2 separate regions of the Homo sapiens genome follow, and region 2 is linked to region 1. The links are contacts of gene promoters, found by promoter capture Hi-C in blood cells and fetal thymus (Javierre and others, 2016). All regions are on one chromosome and are shown on one strand. Each heading gives the region's core, a stretch centred on a gene start or on the middle of the fragment in contact. The rest is flanking DNA. Distances are from core to core; before and after follow the strand shown. Region 1 holds the start of CCDC182 (coiled-coil domain containing 182). Region 2 has its middle 44 kb from the start of MSI2.

Evidence for each region. The method cuts DNA at HindIII sites, captures the fragments that hold promoters and counts their contacts. A CHiCAGO score of 5 or more calls a contact.
Region 2: a fragment that was not itself captured here is called in contact with the fragment with the promoter of CCDC182 in region 1 in 7 of 17 cell types (naive CD8 T cells, total CD8 T cells, naive CD4 T cells and 4 more); the score reaches 9.0 in naive CD8 T cells.

Annotation. Positions count from the first base shown.
Region 1 is chr17:57,743,851-57,746,745 of GRCh38, reverse strand. CCDC182 (coiled-coil domain containing 182) reads left to right here and starts at 1,447. Exons shown (of 1, transcript NM_001282544.2): 1 at 1,447-2,251. The coding sequence starts at 1,474. The coding sequence ends at 1,935. The HindIII fragment of the contact is 19,296 bases long and covers 1-2,895 here.
Region 2 is chr17:57,210,811-57,213,705 of GRCh38, reverse strand. No RefSeq gene overlaps it. Among named protein-coding and RNA genes, the nearest start is that of MSI2, 44 kb to the left of the region's middle. The HindIII fragment of the contact is 2,683 bases long and covers 97-2,779 here.

The sequences.
Region 1 (2,895 bases), core at 198-2,697:
CTTTGACATGGAAGGGTCTAGGTTGATCCTAAGTTTCTTAGTCTATTGTGTGCTGCTATAGTAAAATACCCGATGCTGGGTAATTTATAAAGAACAGAAATGTATTTCCTTACAGTTCTGGAGGCTAGGAAGTCCAAAATCAAAATGCTGGCATCTGGCAAGGGCCTTCTTGCTGTGTCATTCCACAGCAGAAGACATCACATAGTAGAAGGGCAAAGAGAGGGTGAGAGAGAGACATAAAGGGGCTGAACTTATCCACTTATAAGGAACCTGCTCCCAAGATAACAGTGTTAATCCATTTATCTCTTAAAGGGTAGCCTAATCATCTGTTAAAGGTCCTTCCTCATAATCCTGTTACAATGGTAATTAAATTGCAACATGAGTTTGGGAGGGGACAAATATTAGCATCACAGCACCAGTTGTCTCATGAGGGCTCTGGTGTGTGTGCTGTTCTGGGTTGCTCTCATTAATCTGACAGCAACACTGGAACAGGAACTGGTTTGGGTAAAGAGATCACCAATTCAGCTTTGGATGGCTTGAATTGGAGGCCCATTGTGGGGGAGACGTTTAGATTTGGAGACCAGGAGAGAAGTCTAGGCAAGAGACTGAGATGTGCAAGATGAAGGTTTGTTCCTGACTAAACCAAATGTAGATTAGCTAGAAGTATTTTCCTTTGTTCTAATTATCAGGTAAAAAGTACAAGATTTACCTTTCTATGTGTTGTTTCTCATATTTGTTAACATTCAGGTATGTTGGAAGACCATGCACTCACTTGTTCCCTGATCCTAGTGTGTAGTGAGCACTTAGTATTTATTGAATAAATATGACTAACCCATTTTTACCTTGCACCTGCTGAATCAGCCATTGCTGTGGACCATACATCAAAATCTAAGTACATTTTTCGCAATTTCTAAGATTTTATAGAATTCTGACATCATTATAGGAGTATGGACTTGGAATAAGAGATTACTTTTTAGCATTTTAGAGCTACAAGTGGGATTAGGTATCATCTCTTACAATGTCTTTGTTTTACTAGTGAGGTACTAAAGCCCAGAGACCAGTCCAAGACCATGCAGGTCCCTTGCCAGTGTGGGAGACCACCCAGTCCTGGCAGCCAGTGAGCCTGGCCTGGCCTGCCTTGCTCTGGCCAGTTTACTTCCCTGCTCTGGGACTTGGTTTGTTCCTTAGGTTAAAGAAGAACTTGAGTTCTGGTTCTAGAAGGGTGATGAGTTAAGGATCCACATCTCAGGAGGGCGACTTGGTCAGATAAACAGACAAAGCTCTAGGTAACCAACCAAGGAAGCTACAATATGCAAATGAATGGATTGTGGCTTTCTTTCTGGTTGGCTGAAGGGGCCCTGATGTCACAATTCTAGGGTTTCTCCACTCCGAATGATCGTGTCTCTAGCCAAAAATATTTATTGACCTGGTTGGTCTCTTGGCTTCCTCTCTTTGTCCAACGTAGAAGAGACAATGGAACCCCTCTACCAGGCTGGGTCCATTCTCATGACGGTGAATACCCTACAGGGGAAAAAAATGATAGAGAGTGGCCTCCAGTCTGGAGACTTTTCCCTGTCCCAGTCATGGCCCTCCTGCCTCCCACCACCCGCTGACTTGGAGATCCTGCAGCAGAAGGTGGCCGGGGTGCAACGGGAACTGGAGGACTTTAAGAAAGAGGCATTGAAGTCCATTCATTACCTTGAAGACGCCTTCTGCGAGATGAATGGAGCCCTGGTGCAACAGGAGGAGCAGGCGGCTCGCGTGAGGCAGCGGCTAAGGGAGGAGGAGGACCGTGGCATCGTGCGCAACAAGGTTCTCACCTTCCTGTTGCCGCGCGAGAAACAGCTCCGGGAGCACTGCAAGCGGCTGGAGGACCTGCTGCTGGACAGGGGACGTGACGCCCTGCGTGCCACCAAGAAGAGCCAGGCTGACTGAACCTCGTGGGTGGCACTAGCCAAGCACCAAGTTGAAGATTTTTTTTAACGGAAGGAGAAACCCCAAGTCCCTACCCCCTTGCTTTCCCTTCCTCATTTCCATTGCTTTCCTTCTGCCTAAATAACACCTTGCTGAGAGGCAAAAAGACTTCAATATTTTTTTTGGTGAAATTCCATTTATCCAGCATTCTAAAGGAAGGAGGCACCCCAGTACTGAGTCAGGCCCCTGTAACTTTCACTTGAACTGTTTTCCTGTTTGTAATGGTACTATTGCTCAATGTATACCTCTTTATTTGTATAGTATATTCTTAAACTGATTGTGTTGAACATTCACCTTTTTTTTTTTGAATGATTTGAGGCTTTCATGATTTGAGACTTAACACCTGGTCAACTGATACCACATCACGTAACACATGATCTCCCCAGAGGGGTCGGACTGCTTGCCCGTGCACTAACACTACCCCAGATTGCTCTGTTTTTAGTATTCTAACCCTTGTCTGTATGGTCTTTCTGTCTGCCTCTACTCTTAGACTGTCACATCTCACTTTTCTTTGCTGCCTCTTTCTACCTCTACTTCCTTTCCATTTAGACTGCAGACTGGCCAATCGGAATGACAGAGCTTATTGGGACTGTGTGGGTGGAACTCGCTGAGCTTTAGCAACCGATAATGCAACACCTCTGAGATGGCACTAGGAAGTGGGGAAACTGATTTCTGTGTTCGATCCATGGAGCAGGAATTATTGTCACAGTGCCTGGCCATTTATCAGGCAACACACACATACCATCCCACTTACTTCCATAGGCACCTTGGAGGTGAGTGTTGATTTTCCATGGTTCACACTGGGAGACTGGCCGCAGGAAGGCAAGTCCAGTACCCAAGGTCTGCACACTAGTAAGTGGCAGGGCCATGGTTTAAGTCCAGGTCAGCTGTGCTCATTTGCATCCTGCTGCATCCTTCTCT
Region 2 (2,895 bases), core at 189-2,688, 530 kb after region 1:
TGCACCACTGCACTCCAGCCCTGGCAACAGAGTGAGATCCTGTCTCAAAAAATAAAGGAAATTGAGCACAGCAACATTTAGTAACTTGCCCAAGCTTAAAGAGCTCAGAAAGGCAGAGCCAAGATTTGCTCTTAACAGTTGTGGTTTTCTGCCCAGCATCCACTCCCTTCCTTTTGGATGACAACACCTGGATTTTCCTTCAGGGAACCACCCTTCTCACATTTGGTCCCCGCAGTTCAGTTGGAACTGACTACCCAGGCCTGGTCCGAGGACTGAGAGGTTGACCCAGGCCTGGCCACTCAAGCTCCTGGATGCACTGATTGGCTCAGACGTGAGCATGTGACCTTTAAGAGACCAATAGGATTTAAGTCTGAAGGTTGGCTTTTTTTGTTGTTTTTGTTTTTTGTGGTCGTTGTTTTTGTCAGTTTTGGGGAAAATGAGCTGTCTTCTCACTCAAATTGGAACTGTTGGCTATAGAGATAAAGTAATCCTGGAGATTTGGGAGGGTCATCTGTTGTAGAGAATGACACCAACCAGAAGCAGAATGAGGAAAGTTGGAGACTGAGTACTGTTGCCATGATTTGAACCCTTCGATCTAGCCATGCCTGAAGATTTCTCACTGTCTCGTCTTTTCAGTTACAGAAGCCTCAACTTGGCTTCTCACACTTGCAAAAAGGAGTCCTAGCTGATACAGGGGTACAGGCCCCTAACCCAGTAAGTATTATACCAGTTGAGTGATGAGGGCTGAAATAAATGTGGAGGGGCCAAGCACAGTGGCTCACACCTGTAATTCCAGCACTTTGGGAGGCCAAGGTAGGAGGATCACTTAAGCCCAGGAATTCAAGACCAGCCTGGGCAACATAGCAAGACCCCATCTCTACCAAAAAAAAAAAAAAAATCAACCAGGCATGGTGGTGCACAACTGTTACTCCAGCTACTCAGGAGGCTGAGGCAGGAGGATCACTTGAGCCCAGGAGTTTGAGGCTGCAGTGGGCTAGGATAGTACCACTGTACTCCAGCCTACATGACAGAGCAAGATCTCATTTCTAAAAATAATAATAATACAAATTAAATTAAAATAATAAAGTAGATGCGGGTATTTAGGGTGCACTTAAATAGCACTCAGTATATGTTTAAAGTGAGATGTTTTTCACTTTCTTCCTTTTCCCATCCTAAGTCTGAAGCCAAATCTCCGGGAAGATATGTTTACACTAAGAGAGAGAGAGAGTCATGGATTACCTTCATGCCAACACTGACCAAGCCAGTCATCCTTCACTGGGGGGGTTGGATGGTTGTACCCAGTGTCATGAAAGATTATCACAAAAGACCTGATCTCAGGGACAACAATAACAACAGCAAGAATTATTTAGGTTCTGGAATACATTTCATCTGAGGTTTACGAAGCCTTTGACAGCAAAATTAAATCTGACATCACTCCCCAGGTTAACAAAGCAATGTTGCAGTCTTCGCAGTGGAGTGAGCTCAGACACTTGAGGGCCCTCTGTCTCTGAGGGTTGGAGTCACCTGCTTCGGCTGGGCTCTTGGTGCCCCAGTGACCTCCAACAGCGACTTGTCATGAGGGGGTAATGCAGCTCTTGGAACAAAAGGAATAACATACACAGGACCTCAACCAAGCCATGGGCTCAATCAAACCCATCCTTGGGTTTAACTCCTTGGCCACAGGACGATCTCATCCTTACCCCTCCCCAACCAGGTTCAGAGAGAACTTCACCACCTCACTGTCTTGTGAAGGTCAGATTTCAGAATCAGTAGGTAGGTTAATTAGACCACTAACGCCCTTTGAAAGGAATGTAACAGCTGACATTAAGATCTTCACAAAAGGTCATATATTTTTCTCTCCATTGGAGAGGACAATTCCCACATTCAGGCAGCAGAGGCATGAGAGCATTAGCATTCACGACCAACTCCAGAACTATGTAAATAACCACACTGTTTAGCACCCTGGCCCATAGGCAGTTCACCCTCTTCCATGACTAAAGGTGACCATCACACTTAGTGTTTGTATTGCTAAGCACGGTGAGGTCATATTTCCCCTCCAGAGACGGAGACAAAAAGGGGGAAAAAAAAACCCCACACTTTTTCTCCCTGATAAATCTGAAGCTGTAATAAATCAGAATTTAGATCTTTAGTGAATAATTCATGTTTATCTAAAGGAAAAAAATAATGAGTTTCATTATATTTCATCTTCCTTTTACTAAGTTTTGGAAACTGATTCCCTGGACTGGAGCTTCCAGAAATCCATAGAAGTTTTGCCTGATGGCTCACCCTTGAGGGTGCCTCCTGGGACCTCCACTCTCCCTGCCTGGCTCTCTTTGGCTCCCCTAGGATTATGGGGGGTGGGGGCAGTGCAGGAAGAGTCTGGGCTAGTCATGGTACTGGCTGTGTCAGACGCCTAGAGCTGACTCTTCTCTCAGGGCTAGCATGGGATGCTGGAAGTTCCCCTCCTGGGCCCTATGACTGCATCCTTTAACCCAGGTAGGAGGTCTCGTAGGCTAACTGCTATGATCTCCCTCCCCCTCCGTCAGGCACTTGACAGTATGCCCTCCACCTTTTTCTGCTGAAGTCTCCTTGCTCCATGCAAGAAGTTCAGTGGGCAGGGTTCTTTTAAAGCAACCCCACCCTTCCTGAGTTATTTGGAAGAGCACACTTTTGACCTTTGTAGTGGTGCAATGATGGCTCAAACACAGTGATTTCTTCTGCCACAGGGAGCTGCAGCCACCCTCTCCTCCAGTAAACACTTTTCCTTCTCTTCCAAGCTTGAGCTAAGATTCCAACCTCTTTGTTCTCCCCATCACATAGGGCACATATTGAACTCTCTTAGTGGGTGATCTATTCAGTGTTTCTCTCATTAGGCTTGAGGTAAGGAAAAAACAT